7 separate regions of the Homo sapiens genome follow, and all the other regions are linked to region 2. The links are contacts of gene promoters, found by promoter capture Hi-C in human tissues and cell types (Jung and others, 2019). All regions are on one chromosome and are shown on one strand. The core of a region is centred on a gene start or on the middle of the fragment in contact, and the rest is flanking DNA. Distances in the headings are between cores, read along the strand shown. Region 1 has its middle 7.2 kb from the start of LINC02793. Region 2 holds the start of LDLRAP1 (low density lipoprotein receptor adaptor protein 1). Region 3 has its middle 31 kb from the start of MIR3917. Region 4 overlaps PAFAH2 (platelet activating factor acetylhydrolase 2). Region 5 has its middle 15 kb from the start of PAQR7. Region 6 holds the start of EXTL1 (exostosin like glycosyltransferase 1). Region 7 overlaps SLC30A2 (solute carrier family 30 member 2).

Region 1 (2,818 bases), core at 129-2,628, 510 kb after region 2:
AGGTCCATGGACTCTCATTCTGTCCCCACGATGGGCTAGCCTCTACCTCCTCTGCCAGCTCTGCCATCCTGAGGCCCACTCTCCAGAAGCCTGAGCTGGGACTGGGCAGTGGTGCCAACAGCATCAGGAAGCCTGCTGCTGGAGGGCTGCTCCGGGCCCCGCCCAGCCTCCCCCTTACCCCTTGGCTGCACCACAAAGGCTGTTTGGGCTCCGGGGTCTGTGGAGGGCTCTGCCAGCCTGCAGTAGACGGGGGTTTGGGTGCCACAGTGTCAGTGGCAATGGCGTCTCTGGCTGCTGATGTGGGAGAGGTGACTTCACACGCAGCTCCTCCAAGAGCACGGCCTCCAGTGACTCAGTGGAATCAAGGAAAGAGATTTGCCACCTCTCACCCAATGGGGGGAGGCAGGGGTAGAGGCAAGCAAGAGGAGTCCTCCCCTCAGGAGGTGCCAGACCCCACTCCTTGCATATGGAGTTCAGGGGAGGGGCAGCAAAGAACGGGAACCCTTGAGATCTGAGTTCCAGTCTACCTCCAGCAAGAAGCCCTTCCTGTTCACAACACAGTACGGAGCATCTGCGCGCCCCAGGAGCCCTGGGAGACGAGGTTTGCTGTCTTGTAGGAAAAGGCCCAGGGGCCTTGGTTGACTTGGCCAAGGTCCCATAGCTAGGAAGGAGCTGAGTGAGGCTTGGGCCAAGTGCTACCTCCCAATGCAGTGCTCTTTCCAGAACCTCACGGCCCTGCTACCCACTGGCTGTGGGACCGGGGACAATCTCCCTCCTTTCCCACCTGCCTCCTCTGTAAGGACTCTTCGGGGACTTTCCAGCTCTGGCCTTTCAGGACTCCCCATTTTCACTGTCCCTCTGAGGCGGCGGGTGGTGGGTGATCACCCCATTTAACAGACGAGGAACAGGTCCAGACGGGGAAGCAACTTGGCTGAGGCTTCAGGGCGAGGAAGTGGCAAAGCGGGGCTGAGAACCCAGGTCTGTGGACCCCCAGCCACAACATCAGGGGCCCCGGCCGGACCCAGGCTTCTAAGAATGCAGTGCTGGTCCCAGAACCTGAGAACAGGGACTTTCAGGCTGGCTGGTTCCCAAGTGTGAGTGCAGGAGGGCCTGGCTCGGCAGGGGGTGGGAAGGGGCCAGCCACTTCCTGCTGGGGCTGGTGCGGTCCCCATGCGGTGGCCATCAGAAGCTGGCCACTTCCTGGTCTGGGCTGCCTTCCCCTTTCTGAGCCTGGGAGGGAACGAAGGAGCGGAGTGAGGTGCCCTTGCGTGCTGCGGCCTGGACGACGTCTGGCCTCTTTTCATTTCCCCTGCATACCGCTTCGCTCTCCACAGCCACCAACGGTCGGAAGCTTCTGGGAGCTGACTGCCAGGTCCCCTGTCCACAGCCGAACCCCTCCTGCCTACGGGCTTCCTCCTCCCTGGGGCTCAAGGGACTCCTAGCCCTGCTGGGGGTCTGCCCACCAAGGGCCTAGAATGAGGCATTGTCGTTTGTACCGAGGCTGAGAGGTGGCCATCGGTCTGAGGTTACACGCACAGCCAATAAGTGGCAGAGCTGTAATTGGAGCTCAGATGTGTCTGACTCCAAAATCCACATCCTTTGCATATTTAACAACCCCCTGTCCCCTCAGAGGAAGTCTGACCAGAGGAGGCTTGGACGAGGGGACATGGAATGACCCTGCTAGACACTGACCTCTGAGGCCAGTGATGGGACCAGCTTCTCCTTCCTGTTAGATCCTGGAACCCAGCCTGGTGCATGCCCCAGAGCAGGTGCTCGCGACACTGGCAGAAACACAAAAGGCATCCTGACTGTTCCTGTCCAGCTCCTGACACTCATGAGCACCTGCTGCATACCAGGCCTGGGCGTGGAGACACAGGACCAAGGGAGAAGACCTTGCCCCAAGATCGGTGGCCATCTTCCGTACCAGGCTTAGTGTGGACAATGTTTAAATGCACCTCAAATTCCACATGCAAGAGAGATCCTTTAAGTCCTTCCAGCAGGAAAGCCAGACCTGGGTTGCACAGGGACCCCCTCTGGTGCAACAAGGAGGTAGCAGGGTGTGAGGATGAAGAACGTGGAGCCAGGCAGGCCTGGGTTCAGATCCCAGCTAGACGAGCCTAGGGTGGCCTTGGGGAAGTGACTTCATGTACCTCAGTTTCCTCACCTGTAGAATGGGAATCAAACCATAGAAAGTGCCTTACAAGACCTCCCTTCAACCCACTCTGGATTAACAAACACTCTCCCTGTCCTTTGAAAGAGAGGCTAGTAGATGCCACAGCTTCCTGAATGTTCCAGGCAGGCCGGCCGCTGCTATTCCCACCTAGGCGGCTCCTCTGACTCAGTGAGGCTTCTTCCCAGACCTGCAGCTGCTGGCTGTAGTGGCCGAACCAGGGAGACCAGAATGTGAATGGGAAAGAGAGTCGTGTCACAGAAAACCAAGAAAGGACTTTGCAAAGGCCCAGTTATAGGCGAGTTGTCAACGGAAGAAAAAAAAAAAGTGCTGCCAAATGAGGTGTGGGCAAGACAGCCATAAAAGACTGGGGAAGACAATAGTTAAAATCCGTCACAAACTTTCATTGAATTAGGTGTAGACTAAAACTGGAGGGAGGGGGTGATTATTAAAAATCCAGAGGGAGTCTAGGGAGTCTGTGCTCAGATGGCTTCACAAGCATCTCTAAGGTCCCACTCCGCTTTAAAGGACTCCTAATGAGAGCCATAAACGCTGCTGCACAGGTTGGTTTTATGCAAGAAAAACAAGGTAGGACACCAGCTGGGGGCCTCAGTCTCAAAGACAGCCTTGGCCCTGCATCAGAAGATC
Region 2 (2,700 bases), core at 147-2,646:
GCTGGGAGGCGGCCACAGCTGAACAACAGAGTGGGGCCAGAGGAGGAGGGAGGCGGGCCCTCTAGGCCCAGACACGCTGGCACTCCTTGGACCAGGGAGCTCGGGCTCCCCTGGCAGAGCCCTGTAAGGCCAAGAGGGGATGGGATGAGGGGGTGCTGTACTGTCAGTTGTTTCCTGATGAGGGGAGAAGCTGTGGCCCGAAGTAGGTGGCAGGGAGGTGGGAGTGTGCAGCAGTCCTGGGCTCTGGCTCCAAAACCAGCAGGAAGGTGTGTGTGACCCCAGGCAAGCCACTCTCTTCTCCCTCCCAAACAACGAGACCTGCGCTAGGCTGGGTCTTCTGGCTTCAGGGGAAGGTGCCAGGTGACAAGTTCCCTGAGCGTAATCAGAGACTGGGGGAGAGAAAGGGGGGGAGGCCCCTCCCAGCCTCCCAGACGCCCCAGGGAGAGGTGGCGGCGAGTCTGTCGTTTGCCTGGGCACCCAAGGGACTCTGGAAGCCCGAGGGGAAAGGTGCGAGAGAAAACAGGTTTCAAAAATAGTCGGGACGCCAGGCTTGCCACCTGGACCCGGCTAGAGGAAGGGACGTAAGGGTCTAGATCGCCTGATGTGGGGCTCTCCCGAGGCACCCCAGGCGGGGCCTCGTTCCCAATTTCAAGTACGTACCTGCGACCCCGGGCTCACACCTGGATGGGTGTCTGGGCACCCGGAGTCAAAAGTTGGCCCGGTGGGTCGGGCAGGGGGCGGGAGAACGGGCCAGTGGGCTCCTGACCGCCGCAGCTGCTGGCTGGGGCGCAGGGGTGCGGGACGGGGGCGTCTTCCCAAGCCCCTGCGCCCTCTCCTCCTCCCCTAGGCACCGACGACGAGCGCCTGCCTCCCCCTAGCTGGCCAGGACAGCAGGGCGGGAGGTGCCGCGGGTGGCGGGGGCCTCTTCTCCCAACCTGCACCCCACCCCATGCCGGCTGCACCTGAGGACCCCGAGCTCGGGCTCCTTCCTCAGCGCTGCCCCTCCTCGCAGCGGCATCGAGCGGCCGGCGAGTAGGTGCACAACTTGACCCCGGCCGACCCCCTGCCCCGCAGGGCCGGGAAAGGGCCACGCCGGGACCGGAGCGCCGGTGAGGCCCCGCCTCTGCCCAACTTGGCCGCACTCCGGGCGCCCGCGGAGGCCCCGCGCGCCTCTGCCCGATCCCGGCCCGGCCCGGCTGACGCGCGCACACTCACTGCGGTGCCGGCCACCGCCCCCCCAGCTCTGCTTGGCCAAGCTGGGGCTCCGGATCAGCGCCCGCCCCGCCGACTTGAGCGCGTCCATGGCCCGCTCCGGCCGCCGCCGCCGCTGCCGCAGCCAAAACTCCGTCAGGAAAAACTTTCCGCCCGGCCCTGCGGCGCGCGGGCTGCGCGCTCCTCCCCTCCCAGCGCCAGCTCCGCCGCGGCGTCCGACGGGGCGGGGCGAGAGAGGACAGGCCCCGCCCCCAGACGGGCCGCGCCCCCGACGGCCGGTCTCGCCCCGCCCGGTCCCTGTCCAGGCTCCAGGTCCAGGCACCAAGAGTTTCCGAGGCCGCCCGAAGGCGCCAGAAGATAGCAAATCGCAAGCCCTAGACGCCCCCGCTTTCCTCCTTTTCCCCAATCCCCACCCCGTAGGGGCCTGAGGGCCTGAGAGCAGCGGCCTAGGATTTCCAGTGACCATTTTACAGATGGGGAGACTGAGGGCTCCTCCAGTGGTGAAAGATCTTGTTCAGGGACAAAAGCAATGCGATGTCCAGGGCAGTGGGAGACTTAGGAAATAGTGGAGGCTGTAAGCCAGGGATATCCAAACTTTTGGCTTCCTTAGGCCACATTGGAAGAAGAAGTGTCTTGGGCCACACATGAAATACACTAACACTAACGACAGCTGATGAGCTGAAATATATATATATACACACACACTCATGTTTTTTGTTTTTCTGTATTGTTTTTTTTCCCCTGAGACAGAGTTTCACTCTGTTGCCCAGGTTGGAGTGCAGTGGTGCGATCTCGGGTCACTGCAACCTCTACCTCCCGGGTTCAAGCTATTCTCATGCCTCAGCCTCCCGAGTAGCTGGGATTACAGGCATGCACCACCATGCCTGGCTAATTTTTGTATTATTAATAGAGATGGAGTTTTACCATGTTGGCCAGGCTGGTCTCGAACTCCTGACCTCAAGTGATCTGCCCGCCTCAGCCTCCCAAAGTGCTGGGATGGCTGTGAGCCACCACACCCTGCCCAAAAAAATCTCATAATGTTTTAAGAACCTTTACCAATTTGTGTTGGGCTCCATTCAAAGCCGTCCTGGACCTCACATGGCCAGTGGGCCACAGGTTGGACAAGCTTGCAGTATAGACCCTTGTTAGGCGCAGGGTCGGTATATAAAAATTTGCCTTTAGCAAGTCCAGCCAGGCACTTTACTCATCCTCGTAGCTCCCAGGCTGCTCCCTGGCACCACCTGAGCATGCTGGGCCACCCCATGCCCCCGCAACTTCCCAGGTAGCCTCACAGATGGTATGATCTGGAACGTGCCCCTGACACTGACTTGCTGTGTGACCTCAGGCAAGTACTTCCCCTCTCTGAGTCTTGTTTATCTGTGAATGAGAGTCAATGCTATCTCTAGTGATCCTTCCAACCTGCCAGGGTCAAGAATCTGCATGACCTTGACCCTGACCCCAAGCTGCTTCCTAGGAGCATTCGGAGGG
Region 3 (2,700 bases), core at 35-2,534, 390 kb before region 2:
CACTGCACTCCAGCTGGGCAACAAGAGACTCCATGTCAAAAAAAAAATATATATAGATATATAGATATATAGATATATAGATATATAGATATATAGATATATATGTGTGTGTGTGTGTGTATGTACCTCATAAGCACTTTTCCATATTAAACAATCTTTATAAACATTTTTAATGTTCATGTACATAACATTTATATGACTAAATATCTTACTTTATAACTGTAACACAATTTATGTAACCAACTTCCCAGTATTGGATGCTGAGGTTATTTTTATTTTTTTCCTGTAAAAGTTAACATTATTATTTGTAATGGAACTGTTCTGTGTCATGACTATGGTAGGGTGGTTCCACAAATCTACATGTGACAAAATTTGGTTGAACTAAATACACACACACACACACACACACACACACACAGACAAATGCGTACTTGAACAGTAGTGAAATCTGAATAAGGTGGGTGGATTATATGAATGTCAATTATCTGATTGTTATTATGCAAGATGTTATATTTGGGGAAAACTGGGTGAAGGGTATATGGGATCTCCCAATATTATTTCTTTTCTCTTTTTTTTTTTTTTTTTTTTTGAGACAGAGTCTCTCTCTTGTTGCCCAGGCTGGAGTACAACGGCACGATCTCGGCTCACTGCAACCTCTGACTCCTGGGTTCAAGTGATTCTCCTGCCTCATCCTCCCAAGTAGCTGGGATTATGGGCATGCACTACTGCGCCTGATTAATTTTTTTTTTTTTTTTAAGACGGAGTCTTGCTCTGTCGCCCAGGCTGGAGTGCAGTGGTGCTATCTCGGCTCACTGCAAGCTCCGCCTCCCAGGTTCACGCCATTCTCCTGCCTCAGCCTCCCGAACAGTTGGGACTACAGGCACCCGCCACCATGCCTGGCTAATTTTTTTGTATTTTTAGTAGAGACGAGGTTTCACTGTGTTAGCCAGGATGGTCTCGATCTCCTGACCTCATGATCCACCTGTCTCGGCCTCCCAAAGTGCTGGGATTACAGGCGTGAGCCACTGCGCCCAGCCTAATTTTGTATTTTTAGTAGAGACGGGGTTTCTCCATGTTGGTCAGGCTGGTCTCAAACTCCCGACTTCAGGTGATCCACCTGCCTTGGCCTCTCAAAGTGCTGGGATTACAGGTGTGAGCCACTGCGCCCGGCCTCCCAATATTATTTCTTACAACTGCGTGTTAATCTACAAATTAATTCAAAATAAAAAGTTTTGGCCATGTGCTGTGGCTCATACCTATAATTTCAGCACTTTGGGATACCAAGGCAGGAGGATTGCTTAAGCCCAGGAGTTTGAGACCAGCCTGGGCAACACAGTAAGACCCCATCTCTACAAAAAATTTAAAAATTAGCTGGGCATGGTGGCATGGGCCTGTGGTCCCAGCCAGGTCCCATCTACTCAGAGGGCTGAAATGGAATGATTGCTTGAGCCCAGGAGGTCGAGGCTGCAGTGAGCTGTGATCATGCCACTGAGCTCCAGCCTAGACAACAAATCAAGACCCTGTCTCAAAAATAATAATAGGCCGGGCACGGTGGCTCACGCCTGTAATCCCAGCACTTTGGGAGGCCGAGACAGGCAGATCACTTGAGGTCAGGAGTTCGAGACCAGCCTGGCCAACATGGCGAAACCCTGCCTCTACTAAAAATACAAAAATTAGCCAGGTGTGGTGGCACACACCTGTAATCCCAGCTACTCAGTAGGCTGAGGCAGGAGAATTGCTTGAACCCAGGAGGCAGAGGTTGCAGTGAGCTTAGATCACGCCATTGCACTCCAGCCTGGGCAACAGAGAGAGGCCCTGTCTCAAAAATAAATAAATAAATATAATAATAATAGGTGTTTAAAAACCACTACACTGGACATCTTTTGTAAGTACACGTGTACTTCTGAACTTTTAGTTTTTCCTTTGAGTAGATTCCTATGAGAGAAATTACTCATAAGAAAATTCAATAAGAAGTAAGAGCTCTCAATCTCAGCACATTAGGGTTTCCTGGCCATCACCCAAGGAGCTCTGCGGGCATAGAAAACTGATATGCGTGCTGCTGAGGAACAGGGCTTAGCCATACTCACAGAGCTTTCCACAAACCTGGAGTGCCGGCCAACTAATGTACAATGAGAAATGTAACCAGAGGATCCAAGACCCCTGCCCCTAGCCTGAGTTTCCTCTCCCTACAGCCCTTCACAGGCAAAGCCACATTCTAATTGGAAGATTGACTTGTGATGTGAAGCAAGGGAAATTAAGAGACATGATCCCAATGTTAAAGATACCAGGGTAAGCCCTGCTGTGCACATCTCCATAGCAGGACTTAAACCACTGCTACCAGAGACAGGCACACGGGTTCTCGGGCAGGGCACCCCTCCTTAGCGCTGCTTGAAAGGGGACAGCCTATATTTGCCTCTGTAACACTATTTCTGGGCTTCCAAGGTTTGCTAACCCCTGTTCCATCAGTGCATTGCTACTTTAGGTGTGTGAAGATGCTCCAATGAGTTACAGATCAATCTTGTTGGCCTGGAAGCTGGTCTGTCTCACGACACTTGTTTTTCTTGTTTTTGAGATGGAGTCTCGCTCTGTCGCCCAGGCTGGAGTGCGGTAGCATGATCTTGGCTCACTGCAACCTCTGCCTCCCAGGTTCAAGCGATTCTCCTGCCTCAGCCTCCTGAGTAGCTGGGATTACAGGTACGT
Region 4 (2,700 bases), core at 19-2,518, 450 kb before region 2:
CAGCTCACTTAATCTCTCCGGACCTTGGTGTCTTCCCTGGTAAAGCACGTGTATGTACGCGGAGAAGGGGAAAACGATTGTGGAGGGGATTGACGGAAATGCTCCCTTAGGTCTCTTCTTACCCAGACATGCTTTGACTGGAACTCCTGAATCCCTCCCAGAGCATCTTAAAGGAAGCAGAATAATTTAATCATTAACATGTGGACCCCAGACTCAGTGTGTATCCATTTAGATGCTTTTGGTTACAACCAAAAGAAATCTAACTTCAGTTGGTTTAACCAAGAAAGGGAACTTACTGACTCATGTAACTAGAAAGTCTAGGAGTGGGTCAGGTTTCAGGTATGGTCTAATCTGTGGATTCTTAATGTCTTCACAAATGGGCCTCTATTTCTCTGTGATTCTTCTGGTTTTCCCATCCACCATGGGTATCTTCATCCTCAAGGTGGCAAAAGTGGCTGCTGTGGTTCAAGGCCACTTGACAGGTGACATCTGCACATCACACTAGTCCAACACAGGAAATAACTTTTCTCCCCTCAACCGTCATACCAAAGTCCCGGGTTTTACGCCTATTGGACCAACCTAATGCCATACGCGCACTTTTCATCCAAATACTGACCGGAGAATAAGAAGGACTGATTGGCTCCGGTTAATTAAGGCTCAACTCCGGAGGTTAAGGAGGGGTCAGCCCCACCCAAATCACAAGGCAAGGGACACTGGGAAGTTTGACATTCTCATGTTACAACCACATTGTCCATGATCGAATTCTGGCTCTGCTCGCCATATGTTATTGGGTAAATTGCCTTTGTCAAGCATCTGTTTCCTCATCTGTAAAATGAGATAATAATACGTATCTCAGAGGACTGTTGAAAGAATTAAATAAAATAATATGTGAAAAGCACTAAACATAGTTCCTGGCACAGAGTAAGTATGATGATGATGGTGGTGTTGGAGATGATGAAACTGAAGAGGGTTAGGGGAGCACTGGCACCAGTTTAGGAAGCAGCTGAGCCGTAGGAATGTTATCTAGTCAGGAGTGTGCATGCCTGTCATGCTGAAAGCATCTGTTTGATCTACTGCCCACATCATACTTTTCCCTACCTCTGCTTTTTTTCCTCTTAGGATTTTTTCTATAAGTGCTTTCTTCCTCCTCCCCTGCCTCTCAACTTCCTCATCTTTAAAGGCCCAGCATAAGTGCTACCCCATATTCAGTAGTTTAAAAGCTGGGTGTGGTGGCTCTTACCTGTAATCCCAGCTACTTGGGAGGCCTAGGCAGGTGTATTGTTTGAGCCCAGGAGTTTGAGACCAGCCTGGACAACATAGCAAGACCCTGTCTCTCAAAAAAATCAAACGGTTTTAAGAAAAAGCTTAGTTCAGTAACTTTGCATCTGTATAACTGAATCTCCCCCTGAGCAGGATCAGTAATGGTTAAGAACTTAGCTTCCGGATTAGGCAGAGATGGGTTTGCCACTGGGTAACTTGGGAAGGTTATTCAACCTCTTTATGCCTTAGTTTCCTCATCTGTAAAACAGGGTCTTTTGTTTGTTTGTTTGTTTTTTGAGACAGGGTCTCACTCTGTCACCCAGGCTGGAGTGCAGTGGTGCAATCTCGGCTCACTGCAACCTCTGCCTCCCAGGTTCAAGCGATTCTCTTGCCTCAGCTTCCTGAGTAGCTGGGACTATAGGTGCCTGCCACTGCACCCGGCTAATTTTTGTATTTTTAGTAGAGACGGGGTTTCGCCATGTTGGCCAGGCTGGTCTTGAACTCCTGACCTCAGGTGATCTGCCCGCCTCGACCTCCCAAAGTGCTTGGATTACAGGCGTGAGCCACCGTGCCTGGCCAAAACAAGGTCTTAATAGTACCTACCTCAGGCCAGGCGCGGTGGCTCACGCCTGTAATCCCAGCACTTTGGGAGGCCAAAGTGGGTAGATCACGAGGTCAGGAGATCAAGACCATCCTGGCCAACATGGCGAAACCCCGTCTCTACTAAAAATTAAACAAAAAATTAGCTGGGCATGGTGGCACGTGCCTGTAATCCCAGCTACTCAGGAGGCTGAGGCAGGAGAATCGCTTGAACCAGGGAGTCGGAGGTTGCAGCGAGCAAGATCATGCCACTGCACTCCAGCCTAGCAACAGAGCGAGACTCCGTCTCAAAAAAAAAAGTACCTACCTCAGAGAGTGGTTGAGACAATGAAATGATGCAATGTGTATAGTGTCTATAAAGAGGTCAGTACAGTGCTAACCGTAAATAATGGATCTTAGTGGTTACTATTAGCCTCAGGAGAGCAAGGTCTGTGTGACAGTCTCTGCAGCAGTAGCTGCTGGATAAACATACGTTAATGGGCTGTAAGGAGTATGGATGGCTCTCTTTCGTCTTCCAGCCATCTCCTCACCCTAGCAAAATAAAAAACAACCCCCAACCTTGGCAAAGGCAATGTAGCAAAGTAGTAGGTGCAAGATTTAATGAGCGACGGCAGGGAGGATGAGGTGCTAAGGAGGGGTGGACAGGGTAACAGATAACACATTTCAGCAACAGGAAGCCGAGAGGAAACCAGCAAGCGGCTGCTGTTCTGTGTTCCCCCATCCAGCCAGCAAGTTCAGCTCCGGCAAGTCATTTGATTCACCCGGTGATGAAATGGGGGTCAACCAGTCTGTGGGCTTTCCACCTGTCACAGGACCCCACCTCGTAGGCTGTGGGGATGT
Region 5 (2,700 bases), core at 164-2,663, 350 kb before region 2:
TTTTAAATTTTTCTCAGACTTTAGTGAGCATAAGAATGGGCAGAGATTTTTAGAGTCACACAGAATAGTATTCCGGTTCTGGCTCTAAGAGCTTTTCAGGGGGCTTGGGCACCCATACCCTCATCTGTAAACTGCAGAGACCCCCTCGCAGGCTGCATGAGTATTGAGCCCAGTGCTGAAATGCCCAGCACAGGGCTGGCCCCTCCCTGCCCAGTGTTCCTCCTGCCAGCTTCATGGGTCTCCCCAGCCTGCCATTTCCCCCTCATTGTGTGTGTTGGTGGTGGGGGGTGGCGGGGTGCAGATGAAGGCAGATCCTCTTCCCCAGAATGAGGAGAGCAGGGGGCTCACAGCCTGCTGCACTGGCCCACCTCCACAGCCCTGTCCCCACTGGCCGCCTCTCTGTACTTGCCTCTGCCAACTCTCTGGGTCTTTGGCCTTTCTTTCCAAGATGCAGAACGTTTGTAAAACGAAGGGGTTGGACCAGAAGAACTCAGAAGTCCATTTTGAGAAGGGGAAGCTAAAGTTCAGATGCCTTAAAGTTCTGTGTCTTTTCTAGGAGGTCCAAACTCCCAGCATATCTGACTGGGCTGCCCCCAGGGGACTGGGACATCTGCTTTTGTGTCACCTGGCTCCATCATTTCTCCCTCCTCTCTTTTCTTTCTCTTACATGACTGAAGTTGTTTGAGCTCTTAAACAATTTGCCGTGCATTGTATAGGCATTTTACATAATCCATCTGAATTTTTTTTTTTTTTTTAAGATGGAGTTTTGCTCTTGTTGCCCAAGCTGGAGTGCAATGGCATGATCTCGGCTCACTGCAACCTCTGCCTCCTGGGTTCAAGCAATTATCCTGCCTTAGCCTCCTGCAGCTGGGATTACAGGTGCCTGCCACCATGCCCGGCAAATTTTTGTATTTTTAGTAGAGATGGGGTTTCACCATGTTGGTCAGGCTGGTCTTGAACTCCTGACCTCAGGTGATCCAGCCACCTCGGCCTCCCAAAGTGCTGGGATTACAGACATGAGCTGCTGTGCCCGGCCCCGATTGAATCCTTAAAACAACCTTGTGAAGTAAATACTATTCTTTTTTATCCCATTTTATAGATGAGGAAACTGAGGTTCAGAGAGGGTCAGGTCACTCATCCACTGCTAATTAGAGGCAGAGCCAGCAGGCTGCTTGCTCTCTCAATGCCATTTTCCAGATGGCGGGGGTCCCATTCTGGCTTGAATTCATGGGGCTCAATATGGCAGTGCCTGTGCTCACCTCTTCTTTCCAGTTTTTTCCAAATGGTCTCTGACTCAGTCCCTGGATACGCTCGCCTAGCAGGATCTCCTGGGCTGCTGGGTGTGTCCCGTAGACCCTGGCCGACCTACGGATGAAATGAGTAGTCAGACAGGTATGCAGTGTAACAGCAGCTAGATGACTACCTGGCTCTAGTGGCCAGAGAGCAGCCCCGAGAAGCTGGGGCTGCTTGCTTTTATTCCGTGCAGGCACAATGCCGGAAACCTGGAGCCAACACAACCTGTAGGTAATTAACATTTATTCTTCCCCTTTCAGGGAACTTCATGTGCAGATAATCAAAGGTCAGTTTCTGGTCAACATAAGTAAACAAGCCTGTTTAAGATAAATTCCCCCACACTCCCTTGTACCTACTCCTTGCCCTCTGCCTCAGGGTTATGGAACAGCTGCCTTCAGCTGTTCTCTCCTGGAGCTTTGCAGAGCCCTCTGACCTTTCAGAAGGCCTGCTCCTTTTCCCTGTAGTTTCTCCCACCACTCTGACTGATCTCCTACACTGGGCAATCAGGGAAGAGGGCTGGGATGTTAGTCCAGTTTCGGACATACCTCATGTGTTGCGTCCCCTTCCCCAAGCTCCTTCTTCTGCTTTCTCTTTAGATCTTCAAGAGCTAGAAGGTTCCCTAAGAGACCACCCGAAACAAGCCTCTCCATCCACGTATTCATTGAATGAATACACCTCCAGTCCTCCTACTTACCAGGCAGTGTTAGGTCCTGAGGATACAGCGATGGACAAGGCAGACAAGGTCTCTGCCCTTGTTTACATCCTGGGGGGAGAAGACAGACTATAAAAGAGATTAGGATGAGTGCTGTGAGGATGAAAAGGGTGATATAACAGACAATGACTGTGGGCAGGTGCAGTGTGTTCCTGGCAAAGGGAACTGCTAGTGCCAAGGCCTGATGGCAGGAACTAGCAGGTGTGAGGAAGGAGCCTAAGTGAGGCCCTCTTGGCTGGATGAGGTGGGCAAGGGGACCCCATACAAGGAGGTGCTCAGGGTCCAGCTGTGTAGCCTGGGGCCAGGGCGAGGGTTTGGTTATAGTCTGCATGATGCAGTTTTGAAGGGCTTTAAGGGGGGAGTGATGTGATCAGATTACATGTGTAAAGAATTCTTCAGCCACCAGGAGGAGAATGGACGGTAAGGAGAGCCGGAGTGCACAAGGGAGAGAGATGAGAGTGGCTTGGACAGTGAGGTGGAGGGTCATGGTTAGATTCAGGATCTAGGTCATGGTGAAGATAACAGGAGCTGTTGGACTGGATGTGGGCATGCAGTGAGGGCTGACTCTTGGGCTTTTCCCTTGGGGAGCTGAGTGAAGGGGGGTGCCATCTACTCAAACAAGCCTGGAGAAGGAGTAGGTGTGGGGGGATGGATGGAGGGGAACAATGGTTTCATTTGGCCATCATGGCAGACCT
Region 6 (2,700 bases), core at 111-2,610, 480 kb before region 2:
CGGAGGACCAGATGGTTCCTGCCCCTGTTCCATTGCAGAGGCATTGAGCTGCACTCTCCAGTCTGGGCGTCCAGGCTGAGGAGGAGGAGGAGGCAGGCCCCAGCAGGGCTGAATGTGTAGAAGCGAGAGCCCTCAATGGAAGCCAGGATCCTGCGATGAGTCTCAGAGATGGTTCCAACCGCTGGGTACACGAATACCTTAAGGCCATCGCCCCTGCACTTTGAGGTATCAAAGCAAGATTCCCAGTTGCAGCTGCCACCATGAGGGGCTTGAGGAGGTGAAACGGCATCTTCTGGGAGCTCTCCAGGCTGGGAGAAGCTCTGCAGGAGCTCTGCATCCAGCCAGCGGGGCCAGCCTTGGGAAGCCCCGGGCCGAGGTCTGGGAGGCAATGCCAGGCGGAGAAGGGAGAAGCCTCCCAGCAGGACAAGCAGGAGCCAGGAGGCTGACAGTGCCAGCCACAGGGACTTTCTTCTCCTCCACGACTGCATGTGGCCACCCACAGTCAGGGCTAGGGAAGCTGGGAGGCCTCTGCCAGCAAGCAGGAAGAGCAGGGCCTGGGGCGGGAGACCAGAGCTGGGACCGACCTGCTAGTCCTGTGCTGTCATTGTACAGATGGGAAGACTGAGGCCCATCGAGACCAGGCCGCCTGTCTAAGGTCAGATAGTGAGTCACCAGCCAGGCAGGAGGAGGCCAGGTGGGACCCAGCTTGCTGGCCTGGCCCCCCTGCTCTCAGGACTCTGCCTTCTCGGCCTTTGGACAACCAAGCCAGCCTTTTCCCTCCCAGCAGGGACCCCTGCCCCTGGGCACTGCTCTGGCTGACGCAACCCCTGTCCAGAATGCAGGGCCGTGTCCCCCTGCCCTCCTGGCTGCACCCCTTGACCTTGCCCTCAACTGAGAGGAGGGCTGTCTGCCAGGCCATGGGGACCAGTCAGAGCTCCCACAGGAGGCGGCTTGGCCAGGGACAGGCTGGAGGGAGCTGGGCTGGTCTTCCCACTCCTCCCCTTGCCTGAGCAGCCCTGGCTGCCCCTGTGCCCGCTGGCAGACGCTTCTGGGCTGTGGCCCCTGTGGCTGGAGCTAAAATTAGACCCTGCATCCCATGTGGATCATCGGCGTCAGCTGAGGTCACAGCCTGGGTGCAGCCGGTGTCCCCCTGCCTTGGAGGGCCAGGAGGGCTCGGGGTCCTGATCCTTATCCACTCTGCCGCTGCACCAGCTCAGGAAGTGCAGCCCCTCTTCCCCGCAGCCCAGCAGCTGCCTTGCACCATCTGGCTTGGAGCTATCACAGTGCAGAGGCCAGGGCCGCTGTGCCAAGCCCCCCAAACCCTATGGTATCTCCTCCCATCCCTCTCCAGTCGGCAACTGGCCCATCCTGATCTCTTTCCTTAGCAGCAGCCTGGCTCCTCCCCTCCCAGCCCTGATTCGCTCCTGGCTGGGAGGCAGGGTCTCCATTTAACCCCTTCCAAACCAGTTTCCTCAATTGCTAATCCAACCAGCAAGTACTGCAACTCACAGCTGGCCATGAGTTATCACAGCCTCTGTCTCTCAGTCCTCCAGCCACCCTCCAAGGCAGAGATTTACCTGTCATTTCTTACAGATGAGGAAAGCTCAGAGAGGGGATGAACTCTTCCTAAGGTGACCCAGCTAAGAAGTGGCAGGGTGGGGATTTCAATCCTGAGCTCCTGGTCGTTGGTCACCCCAGCTGTGGGCCCTGTGGCTGGAGAAAAACTAGACCCTGCACCTGCTGTGGGCCATCAGAGTCAGTGGAGGTCAGAGCCTGAGTGTGAGGAATCTCTGAATCGGCACATGAGAAGGTCAACAGGTGAGACAAGTGAGGAGTTAAGGGGCGGGGGTGGAGGAATTGGGTAAGGTGCCCCCAACTGTCCCCAGGATTGGTCTCTCCTCCTTCAGCAGCCCCACCCCCAATCTCCTCCAATTCCCAGCCTTTTGCTCCAGTCCTTATGGAAAGTTCTTCCTGCACTTGACTCTTCCATAGTCCAGGCCCCATGGAGGGATTTCCCCGGTCAGTGCCCTGTGAGGGGAGTCAGGAGTGGGTGATGTCAGCCACTGAGGAATCTCTGGGGTGACGGGGGAGACACACTCTGGCCATGAGGAGTTCTGGGCTGATGAGGGAAGGCACAGGGAGTGGACAGACTTGAGTGGGTTCTGCCTCTTCCCCTGACTGCCTCGGGGGTGTTGGGCCTCTGTCCCCTTATCTCTGGGATGGGCATAATGTCAGCCAGGAATGGGTTGCCAGGTTGACGCAGGCCTGTCCCCTGAGGTCCCTCAACAAGTGGTGGCCTCCTTTCCCCTGCGTGCCTCCCCTTGATCTTGGAGGGCTGCTGATCAGACCAGGGAGCCACCGTGGGATGTTTTGCCCTCAGTGAGCAGCCAGTGTGAGAGTCCTAAAAATGGCCCACAAAGGGGACACTTGCCTCTTGGCACTAATGGCTCAGCCACTCGGTGATGAACTGCAGTTCCTGCATAACTCAGTCCTCCCACACTGAGAGGCATCCACAAAGGCCACTGGCTGCTTCGCACGCCCCCCCTTTCACTGTGCCCAGCCAACTCCTCATCCTGCAGGAGTCAGCTGAAAGCTCCCTCCCCACAAGAAGCTTCTCCAATGCTCCGCAGGCTGGGTTAGAGCCCCCGTCTAGGTCCTCATGTCATTCCTTCATCCCTCTATCCCCATACACAGTCATCC
Region 7 (2,700 bases), core at 41-2,540, 500 kb before region 2:
TCGTCTTCTCCATCCTGGTCCTGGGGACAACCTTGACCATCCTGAGAGATGTGATCCTGGTGTTGATGGAAGGTAACCTGGGCTTTGTGGCTCCCTTTTTGCTCTTGGCTCTCAAGCGCTAATCAGCTCAAATAGGGTATGTGTGTGTCTGGGGCATCCTAGCACATGGGCGGGGAGCCAGGATCCGGAGCCCCGGCATAGGCTGGAAAACCTCCTGGGGCCCCTGGGCTGATCTTGACATAGAGCCTGGGCTTTCAGGTGTGGCAGTTCCTGGAACCGTCCCCCAGCCCGAGTCTTCCCTTCCCCCTACCCCTAAGGGTGCCTCCTCTGCCTAGTCAGGTGGCTTCTGGGGGACATCTGTAGCATCTGGAGCTCTCCAGCCCTCCCCTATACACTTCCCCAGGCTCTGGCTGCCTTCTCTCAGGAAGAGAGAGGGGGTGAGGATTATGCTTCTCATTGCACAGAGGGGCAGACTGAGGCTCAGAGAAGGACAGTCAGCCTTGGACAAAGCTACTGAATCCACTGCAGCGCAGGCCTTTCCTACATCTCAGGGACCAAACAATGCCACACCCTGTGGGGACATGGCTGTGCTTTGTGGGGTTGGAGAACGGTCAGTGGTGGAGAATGATCTGGTCTGCCCTGAATTACCTTTTTTTTTTCTTTTTTCTTTTTTTTGAAACAGGGTCTTGCTCTGTCATCCAAGCTAGAGTGCAGTGGTGCCACCAAGGCTCACCGCAGCCTTGACCTCCTAGGCTCAAGTAATCCTCCTGCCTCAGCCTCCCAAGTAGCTGGGACCACAGGCGCATGCCACCATGTCTGGCTAACTTTTAAATGTTTGTAGAGATGGGGGGGGGGTCTCACTATGTTGCCCTGGCTGGTCTCGAACTTTTGGGCTCAAGCAATCATCTCACTTCGGCCTCTCAAAGTGCTGGAGTTACAGATGTGAGCCACCACACCTGGCCCTGCACCTTGGCTTTCTTATGCTCTAGGCCTGGGGTCTTGGGCCAGGGTCATAGGCCTCTGCGTGGTCAGGGTCAGTCTGGAATGGAGTAGGATGCTGGCCTGGGCTTAGCAGTATTTGGCTGCAGGTCAGAGCTTTTTCTCCAAGAATATGCTAACCCAGATGAAAGCGATAATGATGAAGATGATGATCGTGCCCTGGGTGGGTCCAAGGATTCTCAGGATCTGTTCTTTCCTTCTTTCCATTCAAAAATATATTTATTGGCCAGGTGCGGTGGCTCACACCTGTAATCCCAGCACTGTGGGAGGCCGAGGCAGGCAGATTACCTGAGGTCAGGAGTTCAAGACCAGCCTGGCTAACACAGTGAAACCCTGTCTCTACCAAAAATACAAAAATTAGCCGGGCGTGGTGGCATGCGCCTGTAGTCCCAGCTACTCAGGAGGCTGAGGCAGGATAATTGCTTGAACCAGGGAGGCAGAGGTTGCAGTGAGCCAAGATCACGCCACTGCACTCCAGCCTGGGTGACAGAGCAAGATTCCGTCTCAAAAAAAACCAAAAAATATATTTATTGAGCACCTACTATGGAGTAGGTGCTGTTTTAGGCACCAAGGATACTGTGGTAATCAAAGGAGACTGTCCTGCCCTCATGGAGTGTCCATTTTAGAGGGAGAAACTGACAATAAGTACATTCATAAATAATTTCAGTGTTAAGAGTGGAGAGGAAATACAACAGAGTGATAGGGCAGAGACCTTGGGAGGTGAAGGCAGCCTCAGACCTGCAGGCCAAAGAGGTCTTCTTTGAGGGGATGACACCTGAGGATCAGGAGCCAGCCCTGCACCAATGGGCAGGCGTGGGAGGGGTAGTTTCCTTTAGTTTCCCCTGTCCTTGCCGTCCTCAGGGACCCCCAAGGGCGTTGACTTCACAGCTGTTCGTGATCTGCTGCTGTCGGTGGAGGGGGTAGAAGCCCTGCACAGCCTGCATATCTGGGCACTGACGGTGGCCCAGCCTGTTCTGTCTGTCCACATCGCCATTGGTGAGTGCTTGGGACACTCAGGGTGGGGTGGGAGACAGGCAGCCAAAGGCCTAGTGCCATCCCCAACGGGTCCAGGTGACCCCAGATGCTCACAGTGCCCATGCATCAAGCCCAGCCTCATGCTGAGTACTTGATACGCATTATTCCATCTGATCAGCACAATCTCATTTATCCATGAAGAAACTGAGGCTGGGGTTGGGTGGTAAAGTTACTTGCCCAGGCTTTTACAGCTAGTATATGGCAGTAGGTGGCAGATTCCTGGCCTTAAGGCCAGTGCTTTACCAGCTCTTTCAGGCATGAGCCAGGTCTGGGCTGGGAGGCTACCTGGCAGAGGAATGGAATCTGGGGGCTTCTCCATGTTCATGGTCCCCCATCCTGTTCTGCTGGGGATGGGGTATGAGATTTGGGCTCCTGATGGTTCCAAAGGGCCAGAGTAAATGGCTTCCCCCGCTGTGTCCTCTCGGCCCCCAGCTCAGAATACAGACGCCCAGGCTGTGCTGAAGACAGCCAGCAGCCGCCTCCAAGGGAAGTTCCACTTCCACACCGTGACCATCCAGATCGAGGACTACTCGGAGGACATGAAGGACTGTCAGGCATGCCAGGGCCCCTCAGACTGACTGCTCAGCCAGGCACCAACTGGGGCATGAACAGGACCTGCAGGTGGCTGGACTGAGTGTCCCCCAGGCCCAGCCAGGACTTTGCCTA

The links. The method cuts DNA at HindIII sites, captures the fragments that hold promoters and counts their contacts. A contact is called where the count stands out against the background at its distance.
Region 1: a fragment that was not itself captured here is called in contact with the fragment with the promoter of LDLRAP1 in region 2 in 1 of the 25 tissues and cell types used here (spleen).
Region 3: a contact is called between a fragment that was not itself captured here and the fragment with the promoter of LDLRAP1 in region 2, in 2 of the 25 tissues and cell types used here (pancreas and stomach).
Region 4: a contact is called between a fragment that was not itself captured here and the fragment with the promoter of LDLRAP1 in region 2, in 3 of the 25 tissues and cell types used here (adrenal gland, heart right ventricle and hippocampus).
Region 5: a fragment that was not itself captured here is called in contact with the fragment with the promoter of LDLRAP1 in region 2 in 1 of the 25 tissues and cell types used here (small bowel).
Region 6: a contact is called between the fragment with the promoter of EXTL1 here and the fragment with the promoter of LDLRAP1 in region 2, in 1 of the 25 tissues and cell types used here (heart left ventricle).
Region 7: a fragment that was not itself captured here is called in contact with the fragment with the promoter of LDLRAP1 in region 2 in 1 of the 25 tissues and cell types used here (heart left ventricle).

Annotation. Positions count from the first base shown.
Region 1 is chr1:25,032,521-25,035,338 of GRCh38, reverse strand. No RefSeq gene overlaps it. Among named protein-coding and RNA genes, the nearest start is that of LINC02793, 7.2 kb to the left of the region's middle. RefSeq lists enhancers at 818-877, 1,558-1,617, 2,618-2,667. The HindIII fragment of the contact is 6,561 bases long and covers 1-2,818 here.
Region 2 is chr1:25,542,302-25,545,001 of GRCh38, reverse strand. It overlaps LDLRAP1 (low density lipoprotein receptor adaptor protein 1), which reads right to left and starts at 1,396. Exons shown (of 9, transcript NM_015627.3): 1 at 1,216-1,396. The coding sequence starts at 1,303. RefSeq lists silencers at 897-1,076, 1,107-1,566 and an enhancer at 1,667-1,726. The HindIII fragment of the contact is 11,973 bases long and covers 1-2,700 here.
Region 3 is chr1:25,936,486-25,939,185 of GRCh38, reverse strand. No RefSeq gene overlaps it. Among named protein-coding and RNA genes, the nearest start is that of MIR3917, 31 kb to the right of the region's middle. The HindIII fragment of the contact is 4,681 bases long and covers 1-2,700 here.
Region 4 is chr1:25,990,749-25,993,448 of GRCh38, reverse strand. It overlaps PAFAH2 (platelet activating factor acetylhydrolase 2), which reads left to right. Exons shown (of 11, transcript NM_000437.4): 2 at 2,586-2,700. The coding sequence starts at 2,633. Among named protein-coding and RNA genes, the nearest start is that of PAFAH2, 6.0 kb to the left of the region's middle. The HindIII fragment of the contact is 7,134 bases long and covers 1-2,700 here.
Region 5 is chr1:25,889,387-25,892,086 of GRCh38, reverse strand. It overlaps a transcript of STMN1 not described here. Among named protein-coding and RNA genes, the nearest start is that of PAQR7, 15 kb to the right of the region's middle. RefSeq lists enhancers at 462-965, 966-1,469, 977-2,176 and a silencer at 1,495-1,789. The HindIII fragment of the contact is 6,813 bases long and covers 1-2,700 here.
Region 6 is chr1:26,020,435-26,023,134 of GRCh38, reverse strand. It overlaps EXTL1 (exostosin like glycosyltransferase 1), which reads right to left and starts at 1,360. Exons shown (of 11, transcript NM_004455.3): 1 at 1-1,360. The coding sequence starts at 488. The HindIII fragment of the contact is 12,554 bases long and covers 349-2,700 here.
Region 7 is chr1:26,039,072-26,041,771 of GRCh38, reverse strand. It overlaps SLC30A2 (solute carrier family 30 member 2), which reads left to right. Exons shown (of 8, transcript NM_001004434.3): 6 at 1-72; 7 at 1,861-1,995; 8 at 2,467-2,700. The coding sequence ends at 2,612. Among named protein-coding and RNA genes, the nearest start is that of SLC30A2, 5.7 kb to the left of the region's middle. The HindIII fragment of the contact is 5,249 bases long and covers 1-2,700 here.